Regions from separate parts of the Homo sapiens genome. Here all the other regions are linked to region 2. Evidence: promoter capture Hi-C in human tissues and cell types (Jung and others, 2019). All regions are on one chromosome and are shown on one strand. Each heading gives the region's core, a stretch centred on a gene start or on the middle of the fragment in contact. The rest is flanking DNA. Distances are from core to core; before and after follow the strand shown. Region 1 overlaps ADAMTS12 (ADAM metallopeptidase with thrombospondin type 1 motif 12). Region 2 holds the start of ADAMTS12 (ADAM metallopeptidase with thrombospondin type 1 motif 12). Region 3 has its middle 12 kb from the start of RXFP3.

Region 1 (3,741 bases), core at 367-2,866, 51 kb before region 2:
AGACCTGAATTTTGGTGTATGCTGTTGTCAGTCATTTTATTGTCACGCTAATTGGTGTGTGTCCTTTCCACATCTGTGCATTACTAAGTCACACTGAGGCACATGCTTTTCCTTCTTTACAGGATCCCAGGTCAATTTTCTTTCCTAGTTGAACATATGGTGGCTCCAACTCTGGAAGGGAACCAGAGAATGAGGTCTGCGCTCCATGCTGAGGGGAGCCGACTGAAGACAGAGGGTCCTTTCTTGGTTTCCACCAACATCAAGCTTCTTGCCTCCTAGGTTTGACTGTCCACTTTAAAACTCCTCCCACAACACAGTGTTCTCCACCCTTATCCCCACCACCGTGCCCTGCCCACTCAAAAAGGTTGTATCGCGTTCTTCACTGAAACGCAAGCAATACAAACATTAGCCCTGCTTCTCCGCATTTGTCCGTGCTATCATTTTTGTTCACTATAAACAAATACAGTAGTTTGCTTGGTAACTTCATGAAACGGGAAGAAGACAGTTCTTCTGTGTTTTACTAGGGCTGAATCAAGTGACTAGCTAGGAAGAAAAAGACACTACAAAAAGAAGACGGTTTGGGCATTAAATAATTCAAATTTATTCCTCTAAATGTATTTTGATGAAAAGATAAATCTTTCTAAGCAAACTCACTAATTCCCCATTCACTGACTTTCCTTGACAAAGCCTAAGGATCTCCACTTGCAGAAAGACACCAAATCTCCATGAAGGAAGAAGTGCCCCAGAGGCAAGTTTACTTACACCCATTTTCTCCAAAGCTTTACAAAAGCAGGGTGATCTCTGGCCAGGATGTGAAATATCAGCATAGCCTACTTTATTCTTTTACATCTTCATCTTCCTCTTTGTAAGATCTCAGGTAAAGATATACAATGCTTGAGCTCTAGGGTCTCACTGTATGTATTCAAATTCTTTTCTCCTTACTACTTCTGTTTAGGAAGGGTTTCCTAACACTATCTCCTTGCTTCAGTTTCTCCATCTCACCCTTTAATTAACCATGGCATGTTGGTGAAGACCTCAGGATGAAGAACCTGGCAGCCTGGGTTAACTCACAGCTTGGCCACAGATGTGCCACCCTGAGCAACTCACCTAAGTTCCCTGTGGCCTGTTTCCTCTTCTCAACTGTGGAGATGATAATGGTACCACCTCATAGATTAGTTGTGAAGGTTATGTGAAATAAAGAAGTAAGCACCTCTGACAGTGCCTGGCACACAGTCAGGTGTTGAAACTGGTTGTAGCCATGGGAAGCTGTACTAACAGTATTCAGCTCTATGCCCAAGGCCCCAGGAATGCAGCAGCCTTACTTACTGCAGCCCTTCTGGCATATGAGACCCTGGATCCCCAGGGCCACCCTGCAGGGATAGGAGGAATCCTCGGCCTGCAGGTGCAGCCCTTGTTTGGTCACTGATCAGCCTCTGACACCTTTGGTTTAGTGCAGTGCTAATCCAAAGGCAGCCTCAGATGCAGTACTAAGCCAAATCAGCCTCAGTTTAGTGCAGTGCTAAACCAAATCAAACTCAGATGCTTTAGGTTTAGTGCAGTGCTCAAATCAACTGAAGCTAAGCATTCCAGTCCTGCTGAACTGAGCTGCTCCCACCCTTAGCTCTGCCATGTCCCTCCAGTCTGTGTGGCACATATGGCCAATTGAGCTGCTCCCACCCTTAGCTCTGTCTTGTCCCCCCAGTCTGTGTGGCACACATGACCACACAGTCTCCTGGCTGGATTCTCTCCCTGAACCCCAGACTGTTCAATCAGGCTTCAATAGCCACAGCCCTTACCAGTACTGCTAGGGTTTGGTGACTCCAGGCCCTGCTGCAGCTCCCTCCACCTCCTGCCCCACAACCTCACAGTTGTCTGCAGCTACTCCCTCCTTCCTTTTCATCCTTTTTGTAGCATAAAGGGCCTGTACTTCCATCTAAGGCAAAGTCTTCTCACTGTGCTGTCAGCTTTGGACCTCTTACTTCCTCTGCCACTTCATTTCACCAACCATCCTGTCTCTGGTTAACCTCTGGTTCTCCTGTGGCTTTGCTCATTTCTCTTTCAACTTCCAAAAGAAAAACTCAAACTCACACTTTTTGTTCTCCTCATGCTCTGACCTGTATTTTTCTTTCTTTCAAATAGGGTGGCCTACATTTGGAGCATAACCCATTTTTGCCTAGTGTTCCATTATTGGAATGCTAAGCTTGTAGGAGTTATTTTTATCCTACTGCTCAAGGTCGTCGCCAAGGTCTGATTTTTCACACACAAAAACTTGCAACCTCTGGCATAAATGGGTTAATTTCCTACTATTCAGTCTTGCATGTAAGTGCATTATGGTTTCTGCTCTCTCCCCATCAATGGGACTGCTATGCTAGGGTTCCTGACAACGCAATGCAAGAAGGAGCATTTGTGCTGAGTCCTAGATGCTACCAAGCAGTCCAGAGTAGGGTAGGGTATTCTGGGAGAGAAGTAATTTTTTATGCAGACTCATGCTTCTCTCCTCATCAAAATCTTTCAGCCAGGGCCACATGGGTCAATAGGTTCTACCTCTCATTCTTACACAACCATGAAATTCCACACCCTGACACATCTTCATTTTCCTCTTACACCATCCCCTTTTTGACTTCATGATCTCCCTGAACACCTGGACACCCGGGTAAATGCCATTAGCACCACTCATGCAATCGGGTGAAGCCTCAGTTTTGTCTCCTTAACCATCTCTCAGCAATGCCTTCTCAATCTCCAGAACAAAAGGATTATGACTTTACTTTGTTAAGACATCTAAGTAGACAGGCCCAGCGAGTCATTGGAAACGTTCATCTGTAACTCATAAGAGAAGCAAAATAATTGGTAATCCTATGCAAAAAAGCGAAATGTGCTTTCTTCATGCCTTTTCTCCCCTGACTCTTTCATCTTTGTTGTGGTCCTCATTCTTCCTTTCTAATTTTTACATAAATTTAAAAGGTGCTTTACTTAGGGAACTATTACAAATTATTCTGCTGAATCATGGTAAAATAGAATTTGCTTTGGGGATGGCTCCAGTATAAGAAAATCCTCAAGGTTGCAGCTTTCCACAAAGGGAGGGTTCACAAAAGTCTAAGTCCTCATAGCATAAAAGCTTTTAGAGCAAAAATAATTTAAAACAGGAGTTGTCTACACTGCAACTTTTAAACAGAGCTTTTCATGCTGAAATTAGCACAAAGCTTACTTAATATCCAGAGTGCTGCATAAGGAACTATTGAGGAAACGCAAGGGGCAGCTGGAAAAACAGAGGAAAGTGGGAGGCAGGCATGGTGCCAGGCACTGGGACAGTCTCTCCATCTAAGCCCTCTAACAGTGCAGAGACCCTGTAGGTGACCCATAAAAGGACAGAAGACCCCTGGACACCAGGACAGTAGGCATCATACCAAGAGCCAGGATAACAGTGGGGTGCGAACACACATTCAGAAAGCTAAGGCTAGAAAAACTACAAAAGACAGAGCCAGACTTGGTGAGCTCCAAGAAACACTAAGGTAGAGCTGGGAATCTGTAGCTAAGCCAGCATAGGGTCAACTTCATAGATTTGTTATGAAGGTTACAGGAAATGAAAAAGTAAGCAATGCTGAGTGGCTGGCACTCACAGTCTAAATCCCCATAGCATGAATTGGAAGGGCCCTTGGTGATCACCCAGACAAACATGGTGCCCTTCTCTCCCTACCTTTCCCTTCCTGAACAGTTCAGTTCTAAAGCCCTTAAGTAGGACAG
Region 2 (3,479 bases), core at 732-3,231:
AGCTTGGAGCACTTTATAGGTTTTTTGAACAGTGGATACTCTCAGCACATAGCTCTAGATAGAGGTGACTAGGGAAAATAATCATATCTCACTTTCCAGAGAGCAAAAACCATGGCCCCGTGGTGTCTGCTTCACACCAAGCTGAATTCCCTTACAAAGAAGATGTGGAGCAGAGCTGAAAACCAACCCAGGAGAATGTGTGTCTTTGAACGAAATCATCTCCAAATGCCCTGGGAAGTGCTTGCAGGCTTTGTTTGTGCTGCCCCAGAAGGGAGACTTTTCACAAAGGAACTGTTTTTCAAAGAACAACAAGCCCTGCTATTTTAAACTTGGGGGTGGGAGATTGTATCTGGACCGTTTACACAAGTGAGTGCTGGCTGACTGACATCTAACCCCAGTGTTTGCTGGCTCCAGCTTTCCAAGTAAAGCAAAGAGAGGGACTTGCTTCTGATACGTCTTGAAGCCACAGCAGATGAGTTGTCCAGCAATATTTGAATTTTACAACATGAGCAGAAAACCCTGCTTAGAAATCCTAAACAAGGACAGGCTGGTGATGTTTATCACCCGAGTGGCCTTGGGAATTAAAGGGATGTCAGAAAGTCATGGAGGACACTTCCCGAGGCTTCAGCACAGTCAGCAAACACAGGACTTAGTGCATGCTAACCCAGTGCTCTGTGTGCGTGTGCATGCGTGTGGGTGCATATGCGTGTGTGTGTGCGTGTGTGTCCCTATTATTGCTACAGGACAGTGCTGCATGATTCTAAGAGTCAGACTACCTGAGCTGAAAACTCTGCTCTACATTAGCTGGCCTCATAAGCTCTCCAAGCTGCAGCATCCTCATCTGTACAGCAGGGACAGCAACACTGGTACCTGCACCCTGGAAGGCTATTGCCAGTGATCGGATGGGCTGACACAGAGTGCCACGCGGGCCATTGCTGCTGCTAGGACTGTTTACCCCCAGAGGTACAATGAACCCCCCACCAAACATGAAGGTGCCTCTGACCCTTCCAAGTCCAATAAACTGCTGACTGTTAGGCTTAAAAGAATAAAACAACAACAACAAATTGTCCACCAGAACGCTTCCAATGCTTCCTACAATAACATGAGTTCAGAAATTCATAAAGAGAAGCAGCCAGCTGTGGTCAGTGAGACAGGACAGGAAAAAGTGAGCCCTTATGGAGGTATAGTTCCCCCAAAAGGACTATTCTTTCAAAAATACAACCCTAAATCTTTCCAGGAAACCAAAACACAGCCAAGCCTGCTCAGTAGGGGGGAAGAATCACATTTCCCCTTTCCTGACCAGAGGTTTAAAACTAACTAGAAACACTGCAATGACGGCCAGTAGCCAGTTAGCACTTAAAAAAAAAATTTTCCATGTTTAGAGTCTGAAAAATAGGGGATCAAAACAGTACAGCATTCAAAGAGGAGACAAAAGAGAAAAAGTTACCAGCTACCTCTTGGGTCTTTCAAAGACTGCAGTGTCATCCCTGTAAAAGAGTGAGGTACTCACCTTTCTATAAGAATGAAGGACTCATCACCTTAAGCACTGAATTCTGAGAAAGCCTAGGCTCCTGAGGTCCCAGCCCAGATTTCCTTACAACGCAGCCAAATGGCTTTTCAGAGTTCAGTTCTGCCGGGTGGGGGAAGGGAAAGGGGAGCAACAAAATTCCCGCAAGTCTTACCACCACTGTTTTAAAAAGAAATAAAGAAGAGTCACTAACCTTGCCTCCTGTCCGGGAAGCGAACCGGGCCTGGCTGAGGCTGTCTCCCATAGCAAAGCGCCCCAAAGTTAAGGAGCTGAGCCACCACGGAAAGGTTTGCAAGCCAGCTCCTCTGGGCACATGGCATGATTCAGATGTTGAGGAGAAGAAAAGTCAAAAAAGTTTTAGCCCTCAGCTCCAGAAATAAAGCGCTCGCCTGTGGCCCAGCAGGAAGATGCAGGGGTGCATGGTCAGGCGCGAGAAGGCAGCGACTGCAAAGCTGCCCGCGATCTCCCTGTGCTTTTTTAAGCAGAAAGGAGCTAGACACCTTTTTCCCCTCCCTCCTCCTAAAAGGGGAGTGATTCAGCTGACAGTGTCCGCTTTCGGCGGGGTGTGGAATGGGCCAGAGCGGGAGGGCGCAGCCCACCCCGGTCCCCACCCCTCCGCCTCCCGCATGCCCCGCGGCCTCGCAGCCCGCCCGCTCGGTGCATCTTCCTCCCGGACTCCCACCCCCGCGCTCCTCCGGCCCCGCCCCGAACGCCAGGCCCAGCTGGCCGAGCCGGCCAAATAGGGGAGACCCGGGAGAGCCGCCCTGGGAGGCACTGGAGGAAGCTGCGAGTGAGAGGCCCCCAGGCCAGCCCCCCGGCGTGCTTAAATACAAGCTCAAAATGAGGAGAACAGAGTTGAGGCAGAGGGGGGCCCCACTCCCTCCATCCTTCCGCGCTCAGCGCTGCCCCCTCCCCTGCTGTTCTCCTCCAAGTTCCTGAACTTTTCCCAACATCGCTCTATCAAGACTCCTCACCCACTCGGACCGCTCTGGGATTCTCTTCCACTGGAAAAACTAATAGGCGATTTTTCTCTTTGCCAAGTCACACAAAGGGAAATGGGCTGCGCTAATCTGCTAATGTGACCTCAGACAAGCCCCCTCAGCTGTGCAATGAGGTGACTGCTGCAAATGCCTGTGGGCCCCTCTGAGTCTGCAGATCTCTGTGCGGCTCTTCTGATTCTAGAACCCCATCTTTCCTAGCCCACCTCCATTCACTCAAAAGGAAACCAGGAATTAAGTCAACCCAGGAAGGTGTTAAGGTATCTCCCCAGTTTCCCTGAACTGGCTACCCTGGAGAGGGCGTCCATTCATTCAGAGGCTCAAGCTTTTACATCGGTCAGAGAATGCCACAATCCAGGACGCTTGCCAGGCATCTTGAGAATTTACTGGGCTAATCCAGCCAAGATTTTTCACCTCTGAGCTGAAACAGGCCTCCTTACTCCATTCAGGAAGAATTCGGCCCCCAATATTGACTTTTCCCTGGCTGCCAGCCAACCACATGTGTTAATCAAGAGTTCTGGGATACCAGCTTACTCAACCTTGTATAGGGACAGAGCCTCCAAGGCAAACTCAGTGGTCTGAAAGCAAGGTGGTCCTCTCAGATGTGGAACACATGGGCACCAAGACTTTGAGAGGTATATGCTAGTTTCCTATTTTTGGTGTTACAAGTTACCATAAATTCAGTGGCTTGAAACAACTCAAATTTCTTATGTGACAGTTCTGATCTGAAACTGGTCTCACTGGGCTAAAATCAAGGAGTTAGCACAGCTGCATTCATTTCTGAAGACTCTAGGGGAGAATCTGTTGTCTTGCCTTTTCCAACTTCTAGAGGCTGCCTGAATTCCTCAGCTCATGGCCCTCTTCCCCCATCAAAGCTAGCAATGGCCCTTTGAGTCTTTCTCACATCACATCACTCTTCTTCCTCCCTTTTCCACTTATAAGGACCCTTGCGA
Region 3 (3,789 bases), core at 1,255-3,754, 33 kb after region 2:
ATATTTATACATCAACTCCCATCAGTGATTGCTTATAAGGTCCCCTGAGACCTTATAAGGTTGAGAGTGGAGGGTTAAATTTCCACCACCTCTAGGCTGCCCCACAGCATGCAAGGAAGGTTCTGACTGCCACAGAAAGGCCTTGGGGAAAACAGTCTCCAGAGCTGATACTTGAAAGTCAAGCTAGCAAACAGGGAAATGGCACGTGCTAAGGTGAGATGTGCAGGGTACCAACAGCATCTACTGCACCTACATAAATCCCTCTGGTGGCTTCCTGTTGTGCTGTAAGTGCAATCCAAATTCTCAAGCATGGCCTCCTAGGCTCTTTCCACAGTCTTTTCATGTGTCTCTCCCTCAAGCATAGTCTCCCATGCACAGCTGACTTTGGTTCTTTGCTCTTTGCCTGCTAGAAGGATCTGCCTAAATCTATCAGCCAAATTTTCTTTGGAGTTGGAGTAAGATAACCTTCAATCATTTCCAGGCATATTCACTTGTCCTGTCTTCTTCTTCTTTAAAAAAAACTGTTCTTCTGCTGGAACCCATGAAGACAAACTTGAATTTAGTAAAATCCCTCTCTCACTACCTCCAGAACTGACAATGCAGATGACCTGCAGAGGAAGCTGATACCTTTTGCTATAGAGCTACACATGTGCCTGGCCCAGGACTCAAAAAAAGCTAAAGAAAGATATGCAGTAGAAAGTGGAAGAGCTAAAATCCCAGCTGCTGCCCAATGCCAATAAAGTAGCATGGAGGTCACTTAAAATGTGAGCAAGATACAACTGCCTCTTGCCATACACAGAAATGGTTGCCATTTCATTTCCACCTGTGCACCCCTTAAGTCCTTGGTGATGACACTAACTTCTGCAGGATTCCTCCAAGTATATGGTATGACTTTTGGTTTACTATTTTGGTGAGGAAAAGCCACTCTACTAGCTTCCACTTGGGCTTCTACAGTAGCCCTCACTCCATGGACCAGGGAACCAATAGAGGAATTCTGCGCATTGTTGAGTAATTCAATTATGCATTCTGTAACTGAGTAAATAACCACAGTGTGGTTTAGGGGACACACTAAGCCCACCATATGACAGAGCTTAGCCAAAATTTCATTGATCACCTGATGTCCATAAGCTTCTATTCTGATTAGTGGCCCACAATGCAATGTTGGGCCTTTAGGAATTAGTGTCAATTCAGAGCCAAAGTCTAGCTATTTCTTCTCCTCTATTCCCAGTCACACTGGCAAATGAATGCAAGTTCTTTTGGTGAAAGCTAAAGAGAATGATTACAATACAAATTTTTGGCTGTTTTTCACAGTTCTTCCTTGAAGGTACCTGGCCTCCCTTTCATCCAAGGGACTCCGCATCTATAAACTGGTTCAAATCTGGTAATTATTTGAGGGACAACATCTCTGTTACTGTGATTCAAGTTAGATCTCTGTTCACAAAGTTTAGTGACTTTTTTGCTTGTACATATCAAGTAAGACCTTACAAGGTTGTCCACCTATTTCAGTCCTAGAAACAATGGTCAATTAGCACTGAAGTCATAGGTCAAACCATTCTGATCATTGCTTCCACTTTGCTGCATACTGTCATGCCTTTCCTACTTCACCTCTGCTAATTCAGGGCCTCCACTGGGCCCCTGCCACCCTGAAATCCCATTATCTTCATTGAATTCAAGGAGTCTAGGTCAATGACAGCAGTTCCCACTTGCATTCCTGGCCTACTGATAACAACTCCACAGAGGTCTTCAAAGATGCCCAGGGTCCCCTCATGAATGTATTTCTTGCTGCCTTGTTGAAAGAGTATACACAGTTAGGGATGAGTAAGCAGATCTTACGTGGTAAATCTACTTTACCATGCCTATCATCCTAAGCATCTGGGTAGTGTCCCTTGTAGTATACTGAGACATTTCTAAAATTTCTGGCATTTCAGTTTAAATTTTGTCTAGGATACTTCTAGATCCATGTTTCAACCAACCAACAAGTACACTGTTAGAGCCACTTCCTATAGCTTGAACTAATATACTAAATCTAGAATCTCTGCATGCTGTACTCATATCAACAAATGTGACCAGACCAACATTGCATTTCTTCCACCATAATCCAGCACTTTTAGGATCCATTTCCATAAATGTTCTCAGTTTCCATCAACAACATTGATAAACTTGCAATTATTTTGGTGTATACTGTACTTTCTTCACGTGTCACGCTTAAGTATTCCCAGACTCCCTGGGGCCTGCCAGGACTTTGTCTGATTATAGAGCCCCCTCTTTAAACAGGGGAGGTAGTCCTTAGGATGACCAAAAGCCCTTTGCAAGGCCCTAACCTCAGGGCAGAATGTCTTTAGGCAAGAAGAGGCTAACATCCTCAGATAGAGAAGAACCTAATTTTTTTAAGATATGGAGAAAAGATTTTTCACAATTCAAAGACAGTTTGAGGATACTTTAGTGATCATTACGTTGAACAAACCACGATAATTGCTAATTTCAATGGAGACAAAACATTGTGCAAGAAAAAAAAAACAATTGCTATATACTGTATGGCTCAATTGTTAGTAAAGTCATTACAGCATAAATGCTAGAAATTGATCTTTCAAAAGTACAACAGAACCAAATGGGGAGGTGTTAGAATGTTACTAGAAGTGAAAGAGCAATGTGTGAGAAAAAGGGCTACTCACCTTCCACAGTAGGAACTGAAAAATAATGCCTAAAATGAAAACATAGAGTAGCAATATAAGCATATCAGCTAGAGTTATTGAGCTATATAGTAAAAGAATTGTTTAAAACATTTGAATGTGCCTATGGGCAGAAGAAATATAGAGGACCCAGCTATTGGGGAACTGAAATTTTCATGTTTTACTCTTCCACAAGTGCTTCTGATTTAATTGTTTTAAGATTGGCACTGGGCATCAGTATTTTTAAAAGGCTTCACCCTTGCTTTAATGTGCAGGTGGCTTTAAGCTAGATGCAGGTATAGGTTAGGCAAAAATAAAATATTTTAAAATGTCAATTCCCCTAGAGTTACACTTGGATATTCTACATGAGTGGATAGTTAGGGGAAACTTGTAAGTTACCTTTTAAGGATTTTTGGATTGCCTTCCTAAGAGGAAACCACCTGAATGTAGACTCCAATCAACAAGCCTGTTCTGTGCTCACACATGTGAAAGATTTGGGCTCAGCACTAAGAGCAAACAACCACGATGATGATACACGGCCTGTCCACAAGAGGATGACACCCTTTGAAATGAGATGAGAAATATACTGAAAGAGCCACAGCACTCCTTACACAGGTACGTATGCCTTAAGAGATATGCTAATAGAGGGTTCTAAGATTGAGAGGGGAAAAAAATCACACCTGTTTCTTTTTCTTTTTTCTTTTTCCTTTTTCTTTTCTTTTTTTTTTTTTGAGATGGAGTCTCTCTCTCTTGGCCAGGCTGGAGTGCAATGGTGCAATCTCGGCTCACTGCAACCCCTGCCTCCCAGGTTCAAGCAATTCTCCCTGCCTCAGCCTCCCGAGTAGCTGGGATTACAGGTGTCCACCACCACACCCAGCTAATGTTTGTATTTTTAGTAGAGATGGGGTTTCACCGTTTGGCCAGGCTGGTCTCGAACTCCTGACTTCAAGTGATCCACCCACCTTGGCCTCCCAAAATGCTGGGATTACAGGCGTGAGTCACTGCCCCCAGCCTACCTGTTTCTTAAGAAATTAGGGAAGGCTTCCCAAAGAAGGTAGCATTTTGCCTTAAAGTACAGGTCAGATTGAAACACATTGAAATGAGGGAAAAGAGAAAACAT

Evidence for each region. The method cuts DNA at HindIII sites, captures the fragments that hold promoters and counts their contacts. A contact is called where the count stands out against the background at its distance.
Region 1: a fragment that was not itself captured here is called in contact with the fragment with the promoter of ADAMTS12 in region 2 in 6 of the 25 tissues and cell types used here (H1 embryonic stem cells, bladder, dorsolateral prefrontal cortex and 3 more).
Region 3: a contact is called between a fragment that was not itself captured here and the fragment with the promoter of ADAMTS12 in region 2, in 1 of the 25 tissues and cell types used here (bladder).

Annotation. Positions count from the first base shown.
Region 1 is chr5:33,839,382-33,843,122 of GRCh38, forward strand. The region is part of intron 2 of ADAMTS12 (ADAM metallopeptidase with thrombospondin type 1 motif 12); the gene reads right to left. Among named protein-coding and RNA genes, the nearest start is that of ADAMTS12, 51 kb to the right of the region's middle. The HindIII fragment of the contact is 3,081 bases long and covers 77-3,157 here.
Region 2 is chr5:33,890,009-33,893,487 of GRCh38, forward strand. ADAMTS12 (ADAM metallopeptidase with thrombospondin type 1 motif 12) reads right to left here and starts at 1,982. Exons shown (of 24, transcript NM_030955.4): 1 at 1,722-1,982. The coding sequence starts at 1,848. RefSeq lists enhancers at 1,264-1,765, 1,766-2,265. The HindIII fragment of the contact is 6,841 bases long and covers 1-3,479 here.
Region 3 is chr5:33,922,808-33,926,596 of GRCh38, forward strand. No RefSeq gene overlaps it. Among named protein-coding and RNA genes, the nearest start is that of RXFP3, 12 kb to the right of the region's middle. The HindIII fragment of the contact is 5,149 bases long and covers 1-3,789 here.